2 separate regions of the Homo sapiens genome follow, and region 2 is linked to region 1. Evidence: promoter capture Hi-C in human tissues and cell types (Jung and others, 2019). All regions are on one chromosome and are shown on one strand. The core of a region is centred on a gene start or on the middle of the fragment in contact, and the rest is flanking DNA. Distances in the headings are between cores, read along the strand shown.

Evidence for each region. Contacts are between HindIII fragments. The study calls those that stand out against the background at their distance.
Region 2: a fragment that was not itself captured here is called in contact with the fragment with the promoter of ATP6V1F in region 1 in 1 of the 25 tissues and cell types used here (lymphoblastoid cells).

What each region holds. Positions count from the first base shown.
Region 1 is chr7:128,859,681-128,865,291 of GRCh38, forward strand. ATP6V1F (ATPase H+ transporting V1 subunit F) reads left to right here and starts at 3,176. Exons shown (of 2, transcript NM_004231.4): 1 at 3,176-3,382. The coding sequence starts at 3,225. FLNC-AS1 (FLNC antisense RNA 1) reads right to left here and starts at 2,946. Exons shown (of 4, transcript NR_149055.1): 1 at 2,845-2,946. RefSeq lists enhancers at 2,790-2,899, 2,980-3,469. The HindIII fragment of the contact is 21,210 bases long and covers 1,880-5,611 here.
Region 2 is chr7:129,422,694-129,427,926 of GRCh38, forward strand. AHCYL2 (adenosylhomocysteinase like 2) reads left to right here. Exons shown (of 17, transcript NM_015328.4): 13 at 147-245; 14 at 2,181-2,249; 15 at 2,370-2,448; 16 at 3,750-3,870; 17 at 4,346-5,233. The coding sequence ends at 4,352. Among named protein-coding and RNA genes, the nearest start is that of STRIP2, 9.1 kb to the right of the region's middle. The HindIII fragment of the contact is 3,108 bases long and covers 1,981-5,088 here.

The DNA of each region.
Region 1 (5,611 bases), core at 1,926-4,425:
GACTCAGCACCTTCCCCCTAGTCAGTTCCTGAATCAACTTGGCCTGTTTCATGCCCCTTTCCAGCACTAAGCTTGCACAGGGCCTCCCTCCTGAACTCCTGCAACAGCCCTGCCCTGGCCAGCTCCCTCCAACCTCCCCTCCATGCTGCAGCTTGGCGGGGGGGTCACTTTAAAGATAGTATATGCCCCTCTCTGGTTTAGGGCCATCTGTGACTCCCTCCTGCTCCAGAGTAAAGTCTCCTCTTCCTGACAAGGTCTCCAGGGCCACCCAGGTTCAGACAGCAGCCTCCCCAGCCATATGAGTTGGGCAGCAGGCCCACTCTCCATTGTGCCCTCCACCTCCAACCCCCCTTCATTACCTCTGGGCACCCATGCTGTAATTTGGGCCCTTGCCCGGAAACACCTTTGCCTCCCCACCCTCTTCATCTTCCTGGCCAACAGGAAGTTTTCCTGGACCCCTCCCTACCCCTCCTGGATCAGTGCCCCCAGCTCCCAAACTGCCCTGGGACACATCTCTAGTTGCAGTTACGACCCTGAGCTGTGGCCATGTATCCACGGCTCCCCACCAGATGGAGCTCCCTGGCCCTGGGTGTGAATGAGTGAGTGAATGGGTATGAATGAATAAATGAGCAGCTGAGTAGCTGCAGCAGGGAAAAGAAGTCTTTCATTCAACTGATCCCACAATCTAGACCCACCTGGGCATTTCAGCACATGGTGGTGGGCTTGGCAGAAAAACCCACGAGTCCCCAACTCCTAATCCCTGACCTCCCCACCTCTCTCACCAGGCTCTGTGCTTCCTCCCTCTTCCCTCACACCCTCCCACACACCCATCCTCACTCTCTGCCCCCCTCACCCTCACCCTCACCCCTAGATGTGCTAATTTCCCCCTCAGCTTCGGCTGCCTCCACCTGTGTGTGGCTGATAAGCTCACAGACCTCCAGCCTGCCTGCTTCCAGCCAGCCACAGTGTGGCCCTGGGTGCTGAGCCTTACAGGCCCTTCCTCATTAATCCTCATAACAGCCCTATGAGGTGGGGCTACTACCATCTGAAGAAACCAAGGCCCTGGGAATTTCAGTGATGAGTCTGAAACCGTACCTTTAAGTAGTGGGGCACAGATTGAAACCCAGGTGTGCCCGAATCCCAAGCTTATCACACATACAATCGCTAGACCAGACCACGGGCACGTCTCAAGCACTCCAAACTCACAAACCCCATGCCAGACACCGGGAGTGCTGATTTGTTAAAAGGGAGGAGGAAAGAGTGGCTCCTTCCCCTTCAGCCTGCTCATCTTACAGAGGTCACTTTCTTGGCAATGTTACTCCCATCCATGTGCTGCACAGGCCAGAAACCTGGAAATCACCCAGGTCTCTCTCTCTACCTCACTCCCCAAACACATCCACTCTGAAACCAGTTTTGTCCTAAATATCTAAATATCTCTCGGCTCTACCTACTTCTCTGCGTTTCCCATTATCACCACCTGAGTCCTGGCCACCATTATCTCTCACAGTGGCCTCCCAATTTGGTTTCTCCTCCCTCAGTTTCGCCTCTGCACACAGCACAGTCAACAGTGAGTGACAGCTCTAAAACGTAAGTTTGGCGATAGCACTCTCTTACTTGAAATCCCTCAGCAGCTTCAGGATAACTGTCCTCAGGATAACTTCCAGATCTTTTTTTTTTTTTTTTTTTTTTTTTAGACAGAGTCTCACTCTGTCACCTAGGCTGGAGTGCAGTGGCGCCATCTCAGCTCACTGCAACCTCCCTTGCCCGGGTTCAAGCAATTGTCCTGCCTCAGCCTCCCGAGTAGCTGGGACTACAGGCACACACCACCTCACTGGGCTAATTTTTTTTGTATTTTTAGTGGAGATGGGATTTCACCATGTTGGCCAGACTGGTCTCAAACTCCTGACTTCAGGTGATCTACCCGCCTCAGCCTCCCAAAGTGCTGGGATTACAGGCGTGAGCCACCGCGCCCAGCCTGCAGATCCTTTTTTTTTTTTTTTAGACAGGGTCTCGCTCTGCTGCTCAGGTTTAAGTGCAGTGCCGTGATCATAGCTCACTGTAACCTTGAACTCCTGAGTAAGCCCTGCTGCCTCAGCTTCTCGAGTACCTGGAACTATAAGTGTGCACCACCACGCCTGGCTAATTTTTTTTTTTTTTTTTTTTTTTTTTTTTTGAGACAGAGTCTCGCTCTGTCACCCAGGCTGGAGTGCAATGGCACAATCTCGGCTCACTGCAACCTCCGCTTCCCGGGTTGAAGCAATTCTCCTGCCTCAGCCTCTCGAGTAGCTGGGACTACAGGCGCCCACAACCACGCCCGGCTAATTTTTTGTGTTTTTAGTAGAGACGGGTTTTCGCCATGTTGGCCAGGCTGGTCTCAAACTCCTGACCTCAGGTGATCCACCTGCCTCAGCCTCCCAAAGTGCTGGGATTACAGGTGTGGCGTGAGCCACCATGCCTGGCCTTACCAATTATTTAACTTTCCTTGAAGGCCCTACGCTCTCTAGTCAGTACGCCTTTGCACATGCTGTTCCTCTGCCTAGAACACCGTCTTGTCCTCACTTCTATCCCCTTCATCCTGCAGGTCCTTCAGGTCTCAGCTTAGATCTGAAGCAAGCTTCTTGGGGAAGGGTTCTTTGGACGCCCCCTCTCTCCATGGGTTAGTTACCATGGATGTGTGCTTCCATATACTTTTCACATTCTAACCATTAACACACAGCTTTGTAGTCGCCTGTTCCCTTGACTTTCCACCTCACTAGGCAGTATCATCATTAACTTTTGCATTCCTTTAACTGAACAAACGTGTGTTACTTGTTAACTATGTGTCATAGTTACACACATACATACACGATAAAGACCCAGACCCTGCCCTTGAGATGAGTAACTGCGTCTCTTCTCTGGGGTCTCGGCGTCTAACAGCGTCAGGTCCAAAGCGCTTGTTGAACGAATGAACCAAGGAACGAGTGAATGAACGAATGAATGCCCGCGAAGGACGTGGTGCCGCGCGGTCTTCTGGGAATCGTAGTCCCCTGGTTCGGGCCTGTCTTTACGGCGCAGGCGTATTCACATGGAGGCCGTGTTGCTGTTAATGCGCATGTCCCGGAATGCGGCTGGGAGGACTGCGCATGCTCGAAGGGTGGGGGTTGAGGCCGACGGGGCGCCGTACGGCGGAGGCGGGGTTTCAGTGGCTTCTGGTGCTCTAGGGTGAGCTCTGCCCGGCTGCAGGGATGGCGGGGAGGGGTAAGCTCATCGCAGTGATCGGAGACGAGGACACGGTGACTGGTTTCCTGCTGGGCGGCATAGGGGAGCTTAACAAGAACCGCCATCCCAATTTCCTGGTGGTGGAGAAGGATACAACCATCAATGAGATCGAAGACACTTTCCGGTACGGTACCGCGCGAGGCCTGAACGGGCCCTTCTGCTGCTCGGTGGAGTGCGGGGCGAGGCTGGAGGCTGCCCGGACGGGGGTGAGGGGACGATCCTGAAAGTCCTTCCGCCCTTCCGGAGCGGAGGCCTCCGCGCCCCAAGTCCCCGTTTGGGGCTCGGTGGGACAGAAGCTGTATCAGGTCCACGAGCCCCCCCACCTCACATGATCGTGTGTCATGAAAGAAGGGGAACAGAGCTCGTGACAGCCTAGACAGTGGGCTTGGACTTTGTTCTGCTTTCTCCTCCTTTAGAGGCTCACCATCGTCCCGTAAGGCAGGGATGATTTTTGTCCTACTCACAGGTGAGAAAACTAAAGCTCGGAGAGGGTAAGGCACACACTAAAGTTACGAGTCGGCAGAGGCAGAGCTAGAATTTGAACCCAATCTCAACCCTTTCTGCCTCCGGTAAGCCAGGTACACACTCTTGGCAGGTCTCCTCAGGCGGCCTCGGAATTTCCTTGTAGTCTTGAGCACAGTAGGCAGAAATGTCGGGACTGTGAGAGCCTTCTGCTAAGACCTTGCACTCAAGCCCTCACTGCCTGCCTTAGGTCAGAGTGTGGGTGCAGGCATGCTTTTAATCCACCAGGGGTCCTGGTGACTGGAATTAAGGATACCAGCCTCCTATTTTATTCCTCACCCCTTCTCCAGGGCCCCTGTACCAAGTCTCAGGAATAAACCACTCACCTGTTTCCCCCAAACAGTCCAGCCCAGGGCTGCTGGCTGAGACTGGTTCCTGCTGCCTGGTGTATTAGGTAGTCCCTGACCTGGGAGGCTGTTATCTGCCATTCTCTAAGCTGTCTGGTAAAGTGACCCAAGTTATCATGGGAGAAGGACAAATTTTACTTCAAGAATTTTTTATGTTTCCAACCAAAAGGGACCTCAGAGATCAAATCTAACCCAGTGACTGGCAGGGGGTGGGTGCTCAGTAAGTAATTTTTAATCAGTAAATAAACGAATGAGTCTGGGTGCAGTGGCTCACGCCTGTAATCCCAACAGTTTTGGAGGCCGAGGCGGGTGGATCACCTGAGCTCGGGAGTTTGAGACTAGCCTGACCAATATGGTGAAACCCCATTTCTACTAAAAATACAAAAATTAGCCAGGCGTGGTGGCGGGTGCCTGTAATCCCAAGAAATCAGGAGGCTGAGGAAGGAGAATTGTTTGAACCTGGGAGGTGGAGACTGCAGTGAGCCGAGATCCACCACTGCACTCCAGCCTGGGTGACAGAGGGAGACCCTGTCTCAAAAAAATAAAAATAAAATAAACAAATGAATGGGTGGGTGACCACAGGAGAGAAGGAGCACAAGGCCAGGTTCTTTTTGTGCAGAAAGTGTGATTCCTTCATCAAGGTGTCCTCTTCCTAGCTTGTGATCTTAGTTCATGCCAAACTTTCCCTCTGACCCCTCCACCACCCTCATCAGGATAGACCTTGAGGCCTTCAGTGGTCTCATCAGCCCTATTTTTAAATAATTTGTTTTCTTTTTAAAAGTTAATGTGTCTTTTTTTTTTTTTTTTTCTGAGACAGGGTCTCACTCCTGTCACCCAGGCTGGATTGCAGTGGCGTGATCGCAGCTCACTGCGGCCTCGACTTCCCAGGCTCAAGTGATTCTCCCACCTCAGCTTCCTAAATAGCTAGGACTACAGCTTCCCAAGTAGCTGGCACATGCCGCCACATCCAGCCATTTTTTTTTTGTGTGTATATATATAGATAGATAGATAGATCCGCCACATCCAGCCATTTTTTTGTGTGTGTATATATAGATAGAGAGAGAGAGAGAGAGAGAGGGAGATGGGGGTCTCACTATGTGGCCCATTCTGGTCTCAAACTCCTGGGTTCAAGCAATCCACCTGCCTCGGCCTCCCAAAGTGCTGGGATTACAGGCGTGAGCCATCACAGCTGGCCTTCAGTATCTGCACATAAAAAGGGATCTGCATACATATAATCTTATCCTTCCCCTTTCTGACACATCACTGCATATTGAATACACCAGTGTGCACCCTAATCAATCTTCATTACCAGTTCACTTGGAAGCCTTCCGGGCAGTGTTGTAGAAGCCAACCCTAATCAGCGTGACCCTCCGCTTTGGGATGAAATTGATTCTAGGTAGGGTTGACAGAGGGTTGAGCGTGGCAGCCTTTCCCCTTGTCCTCTGTGCCCTCTGGGTCATGCTCATTCCCCTCCACAGCCCAGC
Region 2 (5,233 bases), core at 2,285-4,784, 560 kb after region 1:
CCTAACCAACACAGGACAGGTATTCTCCATCTGGCATGTTGGTTGCTCCTTTCAACCTGCTATTTGAAATGGCTCCCTTCAACATCTTTCTGTTCCCACAGTGGGGCTTGCTATGGCTAATGCTGTACTTGCTGTATGTGTTCCAGGCGAGTCTGCGGACACCAGAACTGACCTGGGAGCGAGTGAGATCTCAAGTTGACCATGTGATATGGCCTGATGGCAAGAGGATAGTACTGCTGGCAGAGGTAAGGCTGAGACTGGCAAAAATACTCCCCCACAACAGGAGAGACTGCAATACCCAGGTCCCCTCCTCCTCATGTTCTCGAATACTTTCAACTCCTCTGTTAAGCACAAGTTTGACTACTTTCCCAATGGATTTTACTTCTAATTGTGAAAGATCTTTTCATTCAGCAATTAAGAAACTATTTTGGTTCCCCACTTTTCACCAATTATCCTGTCTCTCCACGTCAATCCACAGGTTGAGTTAGATAATTATTACTATAGAAGGAATTCACAGATAGAACCAGTGCCACTTTGAGTGATGCATACAAAGAGATAATGTCACTTGTGGGATGTTTTAATCACTAAGCACAAAGTAGATATGCCCGACTGTAACCAGGACTATCTTAGGCAAGTTCTGGGAATGTATGTTTTTACTGATAGATTCCCTGTTTTTGAAGGTCCATTCCCTTGAATTGAGCCAGATGAGTAGTAGGTACCTACCTAGATATCAATTGCTCAATTGATATTTCCCCATCCTAGCTCCTAGCTCACATTGACACTATTGACTTTCATTTTATTGGCTTCCATGTCAGTGTTTGACCACTTTTCCTTTCTTAAAAGCTCCTCTTCCCTAGTCCTGGATTCCTGACAGCTATAATATTAGATGCCTTCTATTCTTACCTTGAAGCTTTCTCTTCTTCAGAGAAAGATACCAAAATATCAAGGAGGATAATAATACTTTTCTCAATTTTGATTTTCAGTTGGTTTTTTTTCTTTTTTTATATTAAAGAACCTGAATATGAAAATGTAAAATATACATTGTCTTTATCTAGGGGCCCATAAGTTAGGAGTTTTTAGTGTCCTTACTGTTTTCTTCACATTTTCCTCACTTTATCTCATCTTCTCAGATACTTCAGGGCATTTGTAAAGGGACTGAACTATTTCTTCACAAGGAAGGAGTATATATGAGGAGGAGATGGGCAGATTGCCAAATATGCATTAATAGCTTTGATGTCAGTCTGCTGACTGATGACTTGTTTCTAGCTGCCCTAGGAGGTCCCACCTGGTAATTTTGGTGACAAAAGCAAGTACCATGGGTGTTTTTGGCTAGATGGTTGAGCAAAAAGGTGGTCAGGCTTCATAGGAAACAAAATAGGAAAGGGTGGCATTGGGGGCAATTTCTAGTTCTTCTACTGTCTGAATCACCAACTCAAAATACAAGGCTGACAATGCTGTCTTTGAATTCAGGAGAAGCAAACTGAAGGAGAAGCACAAAAATCATCACAGCTATGGTGAAACCCTGTCTCTACAAAAAAAAAAAAAAAAATACAAAAGTTAGCCGGGCATGGTGGCGCACACCTGTGATCCCAGTTACTCTGGAGGCTGAGGCAGGAGAATCACTTGAACCCAGGGGGCAGAGGTTACAGTGAGTCAAGATCATGCCATGGAACTCCAGCCTGGGCAACAGAGGGAGACTCCATCTAATCAATCAATCAATCAATCAATCAATCAATCATCACAGCTTCCTAAGTCCAAATATACCTCCCCTCACAACCTGGAGAGATTGTCCCTGGATTTGACTGATCATTGTTTATTTCAAGACAGTCTTTAAAAGAAATGCCGATCCTCAGAAGGAGGATATTTTGCTATAGAGAGTGGAAAATTCAAGAGAAGTACACTGATATTTGGCATAAGCCTCAGTGTCATATGACCATCTGTATTCCTTTTTAAATAATTCCAGAAATCTTTTAGCTATTAGTTTCATCAGATTTTCCAGAATTTTAGTGGTTTCATTTAAATGTCAGTCAGTTAGTTCTTATATATTGAATAGCTGCTTTTTTTCCAGCAGTGTTAGTCAGGAAGTGTTTGGAAAATGGTGGTCATGCTTCTCTTCCCTCACTTCTCAAAGGCCAGCGACTTTGTCCTAATCCATTTGTGTCTTCACCTTTGATCACTAGGGCCGCCTGCTGAACCTTAGCTGCTCCACAGTGCCTACATTTGTGCTCTCAATCACTGCTACTACTCAGGTAAGGCTTCCAGAGTGGGATAGCAGTAGTCTGGAGAAGGTCCTCAGACCCACCAGGTTTCACTTGCTTGGGTAGATTGCCATGAATGGCACATCAGCATCCATCTCTCTGCTTTTCTAGGCTCTTGCCTTGATAGAGCTTTACAATGCTCCTGAGGGTCGCTATAAGCAGGATGTCTACCTGTTGCCCAAGAAGATGGGTAAGTATTTACTCTTCCATCTCCATCCTTACCAAAGTAGTTCAGAGTCTGAGGTTAAAGGAAGTTTGGGGGCATTAACTTACTTAAGGATGGGGGAAAAAAGGTACCTTCATCTTGTAAAGTAGGAATTAGGATTCCTAGGTGCCATTCCCATTTATTTATCCCATTTTCTACATGTGTTGCCCTAGCGAAGTTGTGATATTATGCTGTGATTTATTTTACCTGCCTGTGAATTTTAAGGATTTTTTTTTTCTTAAAGTATCTTTATGTGGGAATCTCAAAGGAGAAAAAAAAAATCTTCCCTTAAAAGAGAAGAATCATCTCCTACCTTGTGACATCTGACTTACTCCAATTCTAGGCTGCCAAATAGCCCCTACCAAACTTTTCTCAGACGACACAAGACTTTCTTACTACACCTTCCAACACCAATCCCAGTGCTTCAGGCCAAAGGAGAGATGTGGAATAGGAGCTATTTAGTTATGTGGGTGTTTTGTATAAGAGAAACATTAACCTGTCTTAAATTTTTAAAGAGCCTGCCTCAAGCACCTGAACTGATACAGTGTGTTTATAAACTCCTCAGGCAAAGATCAGGTAATAAATAAGCTTCTGGTTTTGTTTTGCCTTAGCACTAGGTATATAACAACTGTTAAAAGTTGATACATTTTCCCTTTAGTAGACACTTTAGAAGGATATAAAAGCAACAGCACAGTCCATATTCTGACAGAATGTATAATGAAGTTGGGAGACCAAACAAATACATAGGAAATGACATAAGATTATGAATAAGTACTATGTAGTCAGATAATAGAATGTGAACAGAAACCCATAAGAATTAAGAGTACTAAAAGCAAAGCAAACAGTTCATTTATCCCATTTAGTATCCTTCTTAGTTTTTCCATTCAAGTTTCCCCAGGCATTAGTTGTTTTAAATGACCCAAAGTATGGAGTCCAAGGCAAAACTCAAGTTGGAGCTTCCCATTATTTAGTTCCCACATTATCCTATTCCTTCTTTTAAATCTTAATGCCTGTTGTTTCTTTCATCTCTCCTGCACTTTTCTGGAAGGCAGGGTTCAAAGCTGAGTTAGTAAGGATGAATTATTAAGGCTTTGGAAAGCACTGGGCTTGAAGCTGAAGGCAGCTATTCCTTAGAATTGAGGACCAGTGAGCGAAGGTTGAACATTTTTCATTCAGCTCCAGGAATTAGAAGGTGTCTTTGAACTTTTTAAGGCCTAGCTTGGGGACAATAGCCATCAGATAAAAGGCATGAATGCTTATACCAGGGCTTCTGTGGTCTGTTCCAGATGAGTATGTGGCCAGCCTACACCTGCCTACCTTTGATGCCCACTTGACAGAGCTGACAGATGAACAGGCCAAGTATCTGGGACTCAACAAGAATGGGCCCTTCAAGCCTAATTACTACAGGTGCCTTGGGCTCCCCAGAAATCAGGGACACCTGGGCAGTGATGAGCTTCCTGCACTGGAATTGGTCTTTGCATCCCCAACCACATATGCTTACATGAACTCAGAAAAATGAACCCACTTCCCCTCACTGCCACCTTCAAAAGACTCTTCAAGGCCTTAAATAGTATTCCCCTTCCTGAATTTGCCTTTTGGAGATAGAGAGGTGGAGTTTGGGTAAGTGGCTATTTGCCTCATTAAATAAAGTTCCCCTTCCTCAATTCCTTTCCCCATTTCATCTTGTTGCTATGATTTTTATCTCTTTATGGAGAAATATTGGCCTTTTTCAATGATGTGAAAAGGAAACACAGTTATTTCCTGTCACTGTACACTCCAGAAAAGTCTCTGCCTCCCTGTTACACCTTTAGGCAGGCTCTTCATGTCCCAGCATCCCCATTAGCTGATAACATCACAGTCTCATCTTTCTTTTTCCCTCCAGGTATTAAGTTCCTGTAACTCAAACCAGAATTTTTAAGGAATAGAACTCCAAGCCTTTTCTCCACTACTATACAAGAAAGAATTCAGCAAGCTGCTTCTCCAATCAAAGCTGCCTGCCGTGCTCACCCTGTGTGTTAGGTTATTTATTTATTAAAATCAAGAATCCTGTGCCTGTAGTGTTGGCCCAGAGTGTGGTTACTGCCCTGAGGGCCATGAAAGCCACAGAGGATGGGCTGAGGAAGGAAAGAAATGGGGTTACTGCTCCCAGTGCATCATTTGCATCATTCCCCATTGACTGAATCCTCAGCAGTGGCCGTTTTTCCTCTTGTCCAGGCTCACGAGTTAGTCCAGGGATTCCATACTCCCTATTCCCTGGAGTTTTCTGGAATAAATTTTCAGCACCTGCTTTTCTCAGCTTGGCCCTTCCCCGGGTGAGGCCGTTTGGAATTAACATGGCCAGTGTTTCACACAAGATTGGGTTCCCAATCTTGACCATCACTATCACTGCCTTCTTTATATAAAGGCTAATAAGGAAGGAGTGTTATTTATGGCTTTGCCAAGCTACATCAAGAACTCAGCTGTGCTGTGCCTACCAGGGGTCTCCTTTCTTACCCAGGACTCCTTTCTTCTCCTTGAATATTTATGTCCATTTTAACACTTCCTGGTTGCAAGAGGGATGTGCCTCCATTATTTCCTCCACAGTTTTGGTATTTGTCAGACATTTGTTCTGCTGTCTTTCTAATCCAGCCAACGTCTGCTCAGGAAGTGGGGCCAGCTCCACTGGGACCCATAGTTTTACTTCCTTGTCATTTGATTGGATAGTTTCCAAGGAAGCCCCTCCAGATTGGCACTATCTCAGAAAAGGAGAGCTTGTTGTGAAACACTGCTT